Linked DNA regions of Homo sapiens: all the other regions are linked to region 3. The links are contacts of gene promoters, found by promoter capture Hi-C in blood cells and fetal thymus (Javierre and others, 2016). All regions are on one chromosome and are shown on one strand. Each heading gives the region's core, a stretch centred on a gene start or on the middle of the fragment in contact. The rest is flanking DNA. Distances are from core to core; before and after follow the strand shown. Region 1 has its middle 11 kb from the start of LINC01647. Region 2 has its middle 12 kb from the start of FBXO2. Region 3 holds the start of MTOR-AS1 (MTOR antisense RNA 1).

Region 1 (4,976 bases), core at 2,051-4,550, 480 kb before region 3:
CCCTTCCACCACCCTGTACATTTGAGGCCAATGGCCATTTAATGGATGCCCAAATGATGGATGGCAGAGGCGTGTGTCAGTAAATCCTAAGGCAGGAAGTTGGTGAAGGGCTAAGCTGGATTAAATGGTGGGGTGATAGGGAGCCACAGTGGGTTCTGGAGCACCACCGGTGGTCATGGCCTGTCCTTGGGTGAGTCTGCTCTGGAGAAGGGTCCCTGACCTGGCCCCAGTCAGCTGGGACCAGCAGCTGAAACTGCAGCCTGCCTGTCTGCACTGACCTGTCTTCCCATGGCCCCTCCGTTATGCCTACCAAAGCCAGTTGCTGTGGGCTGGCCATTTCCAGAGGGAGGCCAAGAAGGCGTTTATTGAATTTATGATTTTAATTTATTACAATTCTAATCCCATTATGGGTTCCTTTTTGTCTGCAGCCTGCACAGCAGTGGAGTTTAATTATGGCCAAGCAAGATTTCCCCTACTCAGGGGACCTTTCCTGCCAGTCCTGGTGGCCTCCTGATTGCTTCAGAGGTGGTGGTGGGAGGGTTAGGAGGTGCAGAGTGGAGAAGGAGAAGCTCACTGGTGCCCGGGAGTGGCAGGCTGCTGCAACCCTTCCTGCATTTGGCAGCTGTACTGTGCAGGATGTGTGGGGATGCCTAGTGAGTGACAATTAGGACTGTAGTAAGTGGCTGTGCTGGGCGAGCAGTGTGCAACCTGCACAGCTGTACAGACAGTCTTGGGTTATCCAGAGATAGGCAGGTCCTGGAAGTAGGAGGGAGGGGACCCTAAGGGTCCTGCCAGGGTGTGTGTATCAAAGGTTCCACAAAAATGACTGTCTGGGGTGGGTCTAAGACTCTACTGCCCACTCAGAAAAAGGAATGTCTTCCAGATGGTCGGGGTCCCCAGAGGGAGGCCTGAGCAGAGAGAATGGGTCACAGAGTGGAGAGAAAAACATGGTAAGACAGGGGTTGGGGTCAGGTGCTGCTGCCAGCTTTGCCAGGAGTCCCTGTGTGACCTTAGGTCACATTTAGCCTCTCTGGGATGCTCTTTCTTCTGTTGGGAAATAAGCAGAATACAGGCTCCACCTACCCCTGGAAGGACAGTGTAGCTGGGCCAGATGTGAAATGCAGGAGGTGGAACGAAGGGCCAGAATATCAGACAAGGAGGCTTAGGTGCAGCACAAAGCTAGGGCTCCTTGAGGCCCTGTGCCCAGGCAAAGGTGAGGGGGCTCAGACCTGGTTCTAGAGCTCAGGGACTGATGGAAGCATCAGGAATACTGGGAGGGCCAAACAGCCTTGGCCCGTGGTCAGGGAGCCCTCGGAAGTGAGAGCAGCCTCAGACATTGCAAAGAGAGACCCAGCATCTTGCCTCAGTTCCTTCATCCATAAAATGGGCACGGGAACAACCCCAGCCCTACCTCCCCGACAGGTAGGAAGGGGCATGCTGACCTTGTTGGCGGACAGGGCTTGATCACCGTTAGGCGTAGGACCAGGCAGACAGCAGCATTCCTAGCTCTCTGGGCCTCAGTATCCTCATCTGTAACTGACGGGTTAGAACCAAATGACCTCAAATAATCCTTTCAGCTTAGACATTTGCAGCGTTGGTGATTAAGCAGGGAAGGCTTCCTGGAGGAGTCAGTCTGTAGGAAAGGGAAGGGTCGAGCTTTCTGCAGATTTAGGCCCCAAATCCTGATTCCTGAAGAAGGAGATGAGAGTGAAGGAAGTATGAGGGAGGAGGCAGCATAGTGTAGAGGTTGACAACTCAGACACCCATAGGTGCAGAGCAAGTGACTTAAATGGGTGAGACAGACAGGGTGTAATATAACAGGGACTGGTGGGGGCTGTGGCAAATTGGAACAGCGCGTCCCACCTAAAGGGGCAGCCATTTCTCTGCTCCACTGATCATTGCCATGTAAGGGTGTTGATCACGGGTTGTCAGATGGATTCAGTCTTTGCAAGTGTTCCCAACTGTAAAATGGGCACAGTATTAATAATTGTCTTAGTGACTTGGTGTTAGGACTAAATGAGCTAAGAAATGCAAAGTGCCTATTAACAGAACAATGGCTGGCATATAGTGAGTGGCAATAACTTTGTACTGACAATTACTACGATTGTTGTTATTCTCTATTTGTACAAAAGACCAGATGTCTTCCTTCCCCGGCCCCCAACACACTCCTGGCAGGAAGATGGGGAGCATCTAATCATTTCAGTGCAGTTGTTTGGGGTCTCCAGGGCCATGGGCTTCCTTGGCTGCCTGTGGCCTTGTCTTGAATGGCTCCAGCAGATGAGAAATGTTTGTGATCCAGAGAGAAAGCAGACGCCGGAAATGCTGCTGCCAACAGAACGCTTTGAGTCACCTGGACTCACTTCATGGGGGTTTTATTTTCTTTTGGTAGGTTATTCTGAGCCCGGGACATGCACGTTTGCAGGAAGGATTTGTCAGGCTTCGTTGGGCTGAGAAAGTGGCCACTGAAAAGCTTGGGGAGAGGCGGAGTCACGTGGTGAGGCGTGGAACCAATGCCAGTTGAAAGGGCCCAATTGTGAGCCTTAAAGAGATTCCCAGTTGTGTCCAAGGACGAGGTGGGAGAAACTAGGAGCGGGAGTGACAGGAAAATTGTCTAGCCGGTCCTCTACAGCACATGCATTCTTAATTCAGCCAGGGCTGGCAGAAAGAGACAGTGTGCATGGGTGTGTGTGCATACAGGGTGTGCATGTGTGTGGCGGGCGCCTGTCTACCTCCTCCAAGACACACTCCTTGGTTAACCCCAGCTGGCCTGGATTATACCTTCTTCTGTCTTGACTTCCAGTTCTGGATCTTTGGAAAACGAGCTGCAAGTCTTAGGGCAAGGCATTTAACCTTGCTGTGCCTCAGTTTACCCATCTGAGGAGTAGGATGATAATTCCAGTTCTACTTGCTCCAAAGGCAATCTAATGGTAGTGTTCTAGAAGGACTGTCTTTGGGTTTGAATGCACCCTCTCTCATCTGCAGAGCCCTCTGTAATTTCAAGGCTTTTACACAATCACGTCTGATTCCAGATATGGTGAGGTCAACAGATTAGCAGACAGCTGACATTGAAAAGACAGTCTGTGGCCAGGCACAGTGGCTCACGCCTGTAATCCCAGCACTTTGGGAGGCTGAGGCGGGCAGATCACGTGAGGTCAGGAGTTCAAGAGCAGCCTAGCCAACATGGTGAAACCCCGTCCCTACTAAAAATACAAAAATTAGCTGGGCATGGTGGCGGGCTCCTGTAATCCCAGCTACTTGGGAGGCTGGGGCAGGAGAATCGCTTGAACCTGGGAGGCGGAGGTTGCAGTGAGCCGAGATTGCGCCATTGCACTCCAGCCTGGGTGACAGGAGCAAAACTCCGCCTCAAAAAAAAAAAAAAAAAAAAAAAGACAGATTATTACACTCACAGATCCCAAGAGGAGCGGGCTTGTCCAGCCATGAGGGGGCACATAGGGGCAGTCAGGAGGTAGAGGGAGGGGGAAATCGTGGGCAAGAACATTTATTGTGGTATCCATGAGAAGGAACGAATGAGGCAGAGCAAGCCGGCTTAGGGTTGGCTAGTTTGAATAATTTCAGTGCATTCTGGGCCACAAGGGCTGCCCCTAGTTGTCTGGTAGATGACCCTGGAGTGATCAGGGCAGGTGGATAGTGGTCCAAAGTGTGAGAGCCAATAAAGGAGGTAGTTGCTGGTATAGACTCTGGATTGGTTGGTTTGCATTTTCAAAGCAAATGGGCTCATGGGCAAGTTGGTTACTATCTCTAAGAATTTACCAGCTCTTAACCCTCCAGGGTCACAAAGCCCCAGATGTCAAAGTATCAGAACACAGAAAATAAAAGGCATGCTTGATAAAGGAGGGGTTGGTTGACTGGTCGAAGGTCACGCAGCTTGGGAGTGAAAGAGCCCAGGTGTTTTGACTCTCGGTCCAGGACATGCCCCTGTGATCTTCAGGTGGCTTCTCCCGAGATCCCATGCCTTCCTTATGGACAAGGGCCTCCCTAGACCGTCACAGGGGCTGAGGGCAATGAAATGTTCTGCTTCCCACTTTCTGCCCCCAAACAGGTGTGTCCCAGGACCCTAGTCAGCACTGTTTTGGTTGCAAGTGACAAAAACCCCACCTTAAACAAGCTTAAGTCAAAAAGTGAGTTTATTGGCTCACATAACTGGGTGCTCAGGGTTTCCCAGTTTCAGGAAAGGCTAGATCCAGGAGCCCAAATGCTATTGTCAGGACATCATCTGTTTTGCGTATCTGGAGTCTGCGTCCCTTCAGGTGTTCTCACAAAGCCTTTCTCCACGTGTTAGGGAAGAAGGCCAATGGTAGCCCCGAACCCCTATAACTCATTACCCAAAAGGAAGAGAGATCTTCCTTGCTGGGTTCAGGTGTCAAATCTCTGATTGATCTTCTTGGGTCAGGTGTTTTTTTTTTTTTTTTTGAAACAGAGTCTTGCTCTGTCGCCCAGGGTGGATTGCAGTGGTATGATCTTAGCTCACTGCAACCTCCGCCTCCCCGGGTTCAAGCGATTCTCCTGCCTCAGCCTCCTGAGCAGCTGGGATTACAGCCACGTGCTACCATGCCAAGCTAATTTTTGTATTTTTAGTAGAGACGGGGTTTCACCATATTGGCCAGGCTGGTCTCAAACTTCCGACCTCAGATGATCCATCTGTCTCGGCCTCCCAAAGTTCTGGGATTACAGGCGTGAGCCACCACACCCAACCCATGGTGTTCATTCTTGAGCCAATCAGTGTGATCAGGGGGATTAGAATTCTGGGCAGCCTGGCCTGATCTCACACCCACGAAGTGTGTGTGTGTGTATGTCTGTGTGTGTCTGTATGTGCATGAGTGTGTGTGTGTTCCCGTGACTATGTTTTGTAGAGCATTGTGACTAAGCCCTACCAGGACCTCATGGAATGGGGGAGAGACAGGCAGAAACAGGCAGTATCTGCCCCCAATTCAATGTTCTTCATTCCTATCCACCAA
Region 2 (4,574 bases), core at 442-2,941, 500 kb before region 3:
TTGAGATGGAGTCTCACTCTGTTGCCCAGGCTGGAGTGCAATGGTGCTATCTCAGCTTACTGCAAACTCCACTTTCCGCATTCAAGCGATTCTTGTGTCTCGGCCTCCCGAGTAGCTGGGATTACAGGCGTGCACCACCATGCCCAGCTAATTTTTTTTTTTTTTTAATAGAGACAGGGTCTCACCATGTTGGCCAGGCTGGTCTTGAACTCCTGGCCTCAAGTGATCCACCTGCCTTGGCCTCCCAAAGTGTTGGGATTGCAGGCATGAGCCACGGCGCCTGGCTGGAAGTGACACTTGAATCACATGATGACGAGAAACCAGCCATACGGCTCTGGGGAAAGAGCACTGCAGAGGCAGCCAAAGGCTCCGACATGGGAATGAACTTATTCACAGGTCAGAAAGGCAGCCAGCATGGCTGGAGCAGTGAGCAAGTGAGGAGGTGATCTGACGTGAGCTTGGAGATGTAGGAAGGTGACCCAGAGAGTTTCCTGAGGACCTACTATGTGCTCTGCCCTATAAGATATAAATGCTCTAGGAAGCAGATATGATATCGTTTCCATTAAGGAAAAACCTTTGCTCTGTTCAGCAGGAGCTAGGGATGGGGGTTTAGACATCAGCTGCTGACAATCTTGTTTGATGAAACCAAATTTCCCAAGAGTAGCAGGATGATCAGGATGATGATGATGGTGATGATGCTGATGGCAGCAATGATGGCGATGACAGGCATTTGCTGAGGACCTAGAGCGCCAGTTCATGAGCTCAGTGCACAGGCTCATTTAATCTGTGCAGTGGCCCCCTTAGATAAAAGAGCTAAGACTCAGAGATGCAGGGTAGCTTGCCAGGGTCATGCAATGAATAAGGAGTTGAAGCTGGCTTTCCAGCTTAAGTCTTTTTTTCTTTAAATTGACATTTTATATGTGTATATAGACTTTTAATTAACATTATTTTCACAGAGCCAAGCAAACATTTTCAGTCCGCAGGAGGGAAAGAGGGGAGTTGTGGGTTGTGTTGCTGTTTTTTTTTTTTTTTTTTTTTGAGATGGAGTCTCGCTCTGTCGTCCAGGCTGGAGTGCAATGGCGCAATCTCAGTTCACTGAAACCTCCGCCTCCCAGGTTCAAGTGATTCTCCTGCCTCACCAGCTTAAGTTTTAATGACTTTGCTGGGGTACAGAATCAGAAGGGGCCACATGCTGGGGGACAGAGCAAGGACAGAAGCTGGGGGCTCCCAGGTGAGGAAGAGCAGAAAGAGTTGGAGATGACGAGGACACTGGGCTCCAGAGTGTCTGTGCGTACCATTACCCCAGGCAGTAGGAGGGATGCTAGGTGTTTGGGGGCTATTTTGGCTAAGTGGTCAGGGAAGGTAAAATGAATTTCCTCTTAGATTTCTCAGTGGAAACATATGTTTAACAATTTGGTAATGGAAAAGTCCCTCTTCCCCTTTCTGATTTCTTTTTCTTTTTTTGAGACGGAGTCTCGCTCTGTTGCCAGGCTGGAGTGCAGTGGCGCGACCTCTGCTCACTGCATCTCTACCTCCCGGGTTCAAATGATTCTCCTGCCTTAGCCTCCCAAGTAGCTGGGACTACAGGCGTGCGCCACCACGCCCAGCTAATTTTTGTATTTTTAGTGGAGACGGGGTTTCACCGTGTTGGTCAGGCTGGTCTCGAACTCTTGACCTTGTGGTCCGCCCACTTCGGCCTCCCAGAGTGTTGGGATTACAGGCGTGAGCCACTGCACCTGGCCTCTGGTTTCTTTACCTTAAAAATCTGGATTTTTGTGTACGCGGTGTATTCAGTTGTGGACATGGTATATTCAATTGTGCACATAGAGGGAGGGAAGGGCCAGTTCCTCCAAGTACCACTAGGTGTCAGCATTGTCAAGGCTGTCCCCAAGCTGTGTCTGTCCTGCCCATTTCTCTGCGGAGGAAAAGTCGAATTTGAATCCAAGTCCTGGTCTCTTCCCATTGTTTGGGGCTGAGCCTGGCTCTTCAGGGGCTGGGATTTGGTGCTGCTCTGACCCCAGAGGCTGTATGAGAAACATTTAGGAGGCTAGGTCTCCAAGGCCTGGGAGGCCCCTGGGTCTCACCCCAGGCCACATAGCAAGGGCTTTGGATGGCTGGACTCCCCTCCAGAGCTGGGCCCCTCCCAACTAGGGAGGGCTGGTGGTATCCTGGGATCTAGCTCCAAGTAGGTCTGGGAGTCTAGAACCCCCCCAAGTCCATCTCCACCTCGGCAGAGCCCTGGGCCTTGCTTGATGGTGCCAGGCCTGCAGTGAACACAGAACACCCAGACAGATCCAATCCTGAGTTCCTGGTGCATAATGACTTTGCTATTTCCCACCACCGTAAATTAAACCTAATCTTGTGTTGACTCTGCTGAACAAGGAGAATAATGAAGAAGATTAAGATGAGATGGTATTCATTCTCCTCCAACAAAAGCCAATTAATTGTCAGTAGGATTACTGCCTGGAGCCAGGAGCTGCTTGCTAGGAGCTCTGCAGACAGGATGGAACAGGGCTGAGGGCCATTCGCTAGGGTTGCCACTGGGGTCTGCTGGTCATGCAGCAGGAAATATTGCAGGTAGATGTTAGGGAGAACTGCCAGAATGAAGGAGGGGGCTGGCACCAAGGAGGAGGGTGCAAAGAGCTTGGAATCACTCACAGAGGTGATGTTTCTAAGGCGTGGAGGGGAACGCTGTGGAAGTTCCCAGCCACCTGACCATGTCCATCCGAGGCCCCCTGGGACCTTCCCCTGACCATGTCCATCCGAGGCCCCCTGGGACCTTCCCCTGCCTTTCTGCGGTCACCTTTGATGAATGAAGCTGCATTCAGGGGTCTCTGGCTTCCTCCCCACTCTGCTTTTTTTCCTCCCTTCCTCTCCTAGGAATCAGGGAGGCCATTTGTCCAGTGTTAACAGCTTGGGTTTAGAGACAGAAACATGGCCAGGCGCGGTGGCTCACGCCTGTAATCCCAGCACTTTGGGAGGCTGAGGCGGGTGGATTGCTTGAGGTCAGGAGTTCCAGACCAGCCTGGGCAACATGGTGAAACCCCGTCTCTACCAAAAATACAAAACAATTAGCTGAGCCTGGTGGCACACGCCTGTAGTCCCAGCTACTTGGGAGGCTGAGGCATGAGAATCGCTTGAACCTGGGAGATGGAGGTTGCAGTGAGCAGAGATCGCACCACTGCACTCCAGCCTGGGTGGCAGTGAGATTTTCTCTAAAATAAAAATAAAAATAATTAGAGACAGAAACACTTGGGCTTCACCTGGCTTTGCCCCTTGTCCTCAACCACACAAATGGAACCTACGATCCTCACCTGCCAACCTGGTTTGATACTCCCAGGCACTAATGTGCCTCCAGTTCCTGCACCCACTAGATTCTTGGAACAAGACAGTGAAGCTGAATGGAGTGGCCTGACTGCTGTGGGCCGTTGCCAGAAGGTGAGGGAACCAACATTTGTTGGTCTACTGCTGCATTATCTCATCGACTGCCTACAGCAGCCTCCTCGGGAGGCTTTATTTTGTCATCACAAAATTTATTGAAGAGGAAACCGAGGCTCAGAGAGGTGGGGCCCTTGGTCGAGGTCACCAAGCTGTAGGCTGCAGAGTTGGCTGGGACGGGGCTTCTGTCGCCATGGCCCCCAAAGCTTGAGCCCTTTCCTCATCTGCACATTGCTTCGTGCACATGGAAGGCATTCAGTGTGTGCTGGCCGGATGAATGAAACGCTCATCAAATGCTATTTCTGGTCCAGTAAGTTCCGTTTCAGACTCTCCCACATCCTGATAACTCCCAGAAGTAAATGGATTGTGTGTGATTTGTGAAATTCTTCTTGGTAATTCTTGGCAACTCACCTACCTCACTACTACTGTGAAGAAAACTCTACCCTCCCATCCAGATCTAAGTTTGCTTCATTTACTCGGATTGATGAGGTTTTTTTTTTTAATTTTTTTTTATTTTTTTTTATTTTCTGAGCATGGCAAAAGTAGCCTCAAAGTCCAGTTTTACAATCTATGCTATCTCAGCACACGCTGAGCACTCACCATGTGATAGGTGTGTTCAAAACATCACCTGTGTATGGTTTTATTTAATCCTCCAAGCACATCTGTGTGCTATTATTCCCATTTCAGAGGCTGAGATGAAACTGAGGCCCAGAGACGTGCATTCTCGCCCCAGGTCACACAGCAAGGGCTTTGCATGGCTGGAATCCCCTCCAGAGCTGCCTCTCCTCGCCCCCTGTCACCACCTGCAGGCTTTCCTGGGTGAAGTGATTCTTGCGGAGGGATTCTAGTCCTCTGTGCAGACAGGAATTGTGGTGGAGGCCGTGGGCTTCCGGGTTCAGTTGGAATTGGTGGAGTTTTCTGTGTCCCACAAATCACACACTTAGACTCAGCCTCAGGAATTGATCTTTGGTTCATATGTGGAAGGATTTACCACTTAAGCTTTTTTTTTTTTTTTTTTTTTTTGAGACGAAATCTCACTCTGTTTCCCTGGCTGGAGTGCAGTGGCATGATCTTGGCTCACTGTAACCTCCACCTCCCAGATTCAGGTGATTCACCTGCCTCAGCCTCCAAGTAGC
Region 3 (4,496 bases), core at 1,818-4,317:
GCATAGTGTGTATAGGGGCTCTGCAGGATTTTGGTACATGAGGCTCAAGTTTATTTGTCTTGTTTATATCCCAAGCTAAAGGAAAATAACAGTGGCAAGACCTATTTGAGATGCTGCCTTTAGCCCAACCAGCCAACCCCCTTGATGCTTTCTGTCTATGTGTGTGTGTATAGGTCAGTGGGACAGCATGGAAGAATACACCTGTATGATCCCTCGGGACACCCATGATGGGGCATTTTATAGAGCTGTGCTGGCACTGCATCAGGACCTCTTCTCCTTGGCACAACAGGTAAAAACCTACATGCACCCAGATCTCTCAGTGAGGAAAAGATTGTAGTGCTTCTAAGCCCACGGTGCTTTGGTAAAGAAGCTGTTGTACTTCAGGTCTGATGTTTACTCGGCTCTGTGAGTACATTTGAATGGTTTTGATTCATTGTACTCAGAAGACTGCCAGCAGGTCAGCTGGGGCTACTTATTGTTCTGAGGGGGACAAATGTGTTCTGGAAGCTACTGTCTCGGTTGCTTTTGGAGTTAGCTTGTTGGGTCATCATTGTATCCCTTGTTGTAGAGAGAAGCTGTATTTCACCAAAAGGTAGGATTCAGAGAGCCAGCAGTCTCACTGTGCAGCAGAAATCAGTCACAAGGGTCTTCTGGCCATGCAGGCATGTCACACATTGATTACCTTCCGAGGAAGCTAGTACTTACTTGCAAATAGTATGCTGACTTGCAGAATGAAATAATGAAGTAATCCCATCCACCCTGTCAGACACGAGACTTAGATGAGGTGCCCGGGTAAATGATCTGAGCACTTAAGGCATTGGGACACTATAATTAACCTTAAACATTCAAAAACGGGAAAAGCTCTGCATGAGGGGTTTTTAATTGATGGCACAGAGGAAACTCAAACTGCAGTGCTGTGGCGTCCCCCAGGCTGTCATTTGTGTGATGAGAACCAAGATCTTGGTTGTCTCTGTCAGAGACACAAGAGTTCCCGTTCATGTGGACAGGATTGGGCATCTCTGCCAATTTTAGAGACACTCCCTCATAAGGACAGAGGGTGCTTGGAAGCCAGAGCTACCACCTGGAGCCATTGAAGTGTGTGCAGAATCTATTTTCATAAACATGCCCAGCAAGAAAAAGTTAAAAGAGGGTAGATCCCCAGGCTGGGCACAGTGGCTCACACCTGTAATCGCAGCACTTTGGGAGGCCGAGGCAGACGGATCACTTGAGACCAGGAGTTCAAGACCAGCCTGCCCAACATGGTGAAACCCTATCTCTACTAAAAATACAAAAATTAGCTGGGCGTGGTGGCGGGCGCCTGTAACCCCAGCATCCCAGCTACTTGGGAGGCTGAGGCAAGAGAATCGCTTGAACCAACATGGAGAAACCCTATCTCTACTAAAAATACAAAAATTAGCTGGGCGTGGTGGCGGGCGCCTGTAACCCCAGCATCCCAGCTACTTGGGAGGCTGAGGCAAGAGAATCACTTGAACCCGGGAGGTGGAGACTGCAGTGAGCCAAGATCACACCACTGCACTCCAGCCTGGGTGACAGAGTGAGACTGTGTCTCAGAAGAAAAAAAAAAGGTAGATCCCCAGTTATGTCCTCTTGAGATGCAAGAACCCATGATTCGGTTTTACAGCCCACATTCCCATGCCCTTGCCACCTAAGATTTTGTGTGTTACCTTAGATAGATGTTAAAGTTTTGGATGCCATACATTTCTGTCTTCGATGAGAAATTGGATAATACCTCCTCTCAAGCCATTCAGTTCTGGGAAAATGCCCTTCTTCAGCGAATTTCTCTTTTCATCCCTGGAATTTAAGTGAGACAGATAACTTCTGTAGCTAGTTGGGGTGCCCTAAAATAACCCTAAGCTCCCAAGTCCAGAGCTCAGTCCCAAGGGTTGTTTCTCTTCTAGTGCATTGACAAGGCCAGGGACCTGCTGGATGCTGAATTAACTGCGATGGCAGGAGAGAGTTACAGTCGGGCATATGGGGTAAGTGTCAACTATTCTGCACATTGTCATTTTTGAGGCTTATTTCCATACTTTTTTCAGAATGGGCTATTGAGAACTTACAGGCTGCTGGAAACATGCCTGTTTTCTCTGATCGGCAGATACCCTGACACCAGAAGGAATGATTTAAATTAATCCTGTCTTTTGGATTGTTCGTGCAGTAATTAGTTTGGAATGCGATTTGCTTCCATCAGGCCATGGTTTCTTGCCACATGCTGTCCGAGCTGGAGGAGGTTATCCAGTACAAACTTGTCCCCGAGCGACGAGAGATCATCCGCCAGATCTGGTGGGAGAGACTGCAGGTGAGCTTGGTAGAAAGCCCCAGTTCACCCACCTACCCCTACCCCTTCCAGGACCTGGGTGAGTGCCCCCCTCCACCCTGGCTCTTACTCAACTTGCTTTTCCTGCCTCCTCCACCAGTGTATTGCTTGGCTTGCATACAAAGCAGAATACTCAAAGGCTCCTCACCTAAACTTAAGCTGTGAGAGAATGACCAATTTTCCAGTCTCTTCTTATTCTCTTCTCTAGGAATTAAAAAAAATGTTTTTTAGTAAGTGACACCTGTGACCAGTCAGTTAGGAATCATAACCTCAAAATCAGTGGTTCTCAACCTTAGCAGCACAGTAGAATCACCTGCAGAGCTTTTTAAAATCCTGATGCCCAGGCTATTCCCCAGGCCAATTAAATTTCTGGGGAGAGACTCAGGATCAGTATCTTTTCAGGTTCCCCCAGATGATTCCACCAGCCAAAGCTAAGAACCACTGCTCTAACTACACTTGGAGGCCACCTGCACCAGCTTTTCAGATGGGGTTGCCTTAGGTTCTCATTGGCCAACTCCTGCTATTTATAGCTACTTAGGTCAGAGTCATCCTGTCGCCTCTATTGAGACTTTTTTTCCACTGCAGTTTCCGCTTGTAGAGAAGAAGCTTTCCCAAGTCCTCCATCAGTGTTTTCATTCTCACATTCTGATCATTTTAACATGAGAAACTGTCACTCCAGGTCTGGGAGTCAGGAGTCTAAATGTTCTGGGAAGGATGGCCAGTTATCCCATTCCTTGAGTGGGTAGGATAGGAAGTTCATCAGCAAAAGAAAAAAGAGAGAAAGCCTTTACCACTCCAGAAACCATTTGTCTCCCTACCTATCATAATCCATCCCCGCAATTATAAACCATTTCCTCTCAACTAGATCCCCACCTAATTGCTAATTCCAAATTCTCGCTTCAGACCAATCGAAGTTTGTGCTTCCAGGCGTCTCAGTAGGCTGCGACAAAACCTTTTGACTCCAAACACATTCCTGCCTAGGAAGCTCAGGGCACATTCCCCTGGACAGGAAAGAGCAATGGGCAAAGGAACATCTATGAATACAGTCATTTATGGCTCTGAAATGAGCACATACAGTTCTTTTACATGTTTTATTAGTAATTATGAAATGCCCAGTGAATGTTTTGATGGAAAATTGTCTCCTGGGCACCAGAAAGAATTCCACAAATAAGCATTTCCCACTTGATTTGTACACACCCCAATTCTTTGAAATGCCTATAATAAAGAGTTTCTACAGCAGAGATCTGATGAACCTTCTGACAGTCTGACAAGTGGGACTTGATCCAAATGTAGACTTAGAGGAGAGGGGAGGCATGGAATGAGTCCTGGGAAGAGAGATGCCTGTCTGACTTTACTGGGTCCAGGACACTGCCACCACCTTAAGCCTTCGTGACTTTCCTATCTTGAGGCAGCAAGATGCTTTTTGGCTTACAGGAGGCCAAATTATTTCAGCATCTGGGAGAACCTAACTATTGGTGAGAAGTCACAAAAAACAATCACTCAGTGTACTTTTTTCTGTTATTTTAACTTTCGAAATCATTGTTGTCACACTTCATGGGATGGAAAAATGTGGTCCAAGGCCTGAAAGTAAAGCATTACATTTATAGTGGAAATTTGGCTCTTGTGGATGGCTTGCTGTCAAATGAACTGCTGGGGCTAGAAAACTGCCATTTTGTGGTCAAATCATTTAAATTAAAATCCCCAACCAGTATTATAGTAGTGGAAAAATACATGTTTGTTACTTTTCTTTGGAGTTGCACCAATGCTTTTGGTTCCTAAGACCCTCCCATAGGGCAGTTAGAGAGGTCAGCCTTACTGGCGCTGGGTCTCTTCTAGCCTTGGGTTCTCCAGTCAGGCTCAGACTGCATCTTATCATAGCTAAAAGCCTGAGATCATTGTCGCTAGACTTTTAAGTTTATCTCCATGGAGGACAGCTCCATGGGTTCATGGAATTTACCATGAAGCAGTAGATCTCAGGAACTCCCCTTCTGAGTCTGACTTCTTATCAACAAGGATGAAAAAGGAGTTCACTTGGCCAGGCATGGTGGCTCACACCTGTAATCCCAGCACTTTGGGAGGCTGAGGCAGGTGGATTGCTTGAGGTCAGGAGTTTGAGACTTAGCCTGGCCAACATAGAGAAACCCCCTCTCTGCTAAAAGAA

Evidence for each region. Contacts are between HindIII fragments. The CHiCAGO score rates a contact against its expected background, and 5 or more counts as called.
Region 1: a fragment that was not itself captured here is called in contact with the fragment with the promoter of MTOR-AS1 in region 3 in 1 of 17 cell types (naive B cells); the score reaches 6.3 in naive B cells.
Region 2: a contact is called between a fragment that was not itself captured here and the fragment with the promoter of MTOR-AS1 in region 3, in 2 of 17 cell types (endothelial precursors and M2 macrophages). The highest score is 6.1, in endothelial precursors.

The regions. Positions count from the first base shown.
Region 1 is chr1:11,618,129-11,623,104 of GRCh38, reverse strand. No RefSeq gene overlaps it. Among named protein-coding and RNA genes, the nearest start is that of LINC01647, 11 kb to the right of the region's middle. The HindIII fragment of the contact is 1,656 bases long and covers 2,473-4,128 here.
Region 2 is chr1:11,639,897-11,644,470 of GRCh38, reverse strand. No RefSeq gene overlaps it. Among named protein-coding and RNA genes, the nearest start is that of FBXO2, 12 kb to the left of the region's middle. The HindIII fragment of the contact is 3,910 bases long and covers 1-3,646 here.
Region 3 is chr1:11,142,469-11,146,964 of GRCh38, reverse strand. MTOR-AS1 (MTOR antisense RNA 1) reads right to left here and starts at 3,067. Exons shown (of 4, transcript NR_046600.1): 1 at 2,978-3,067; 2 at 2,079-2,298; 3 at 1,686-1,812. MTOR (mechanistic target of rapamycin kinase) reads left to right here. Exons shown (of 58, transcript NM_004958.4): 32 at 174-289; 33 at 1,920-1,997; 34 at 2,210-2,317. The HindIII fragment of the contact is 11,786 bases long and covers 2,944-4,496 here.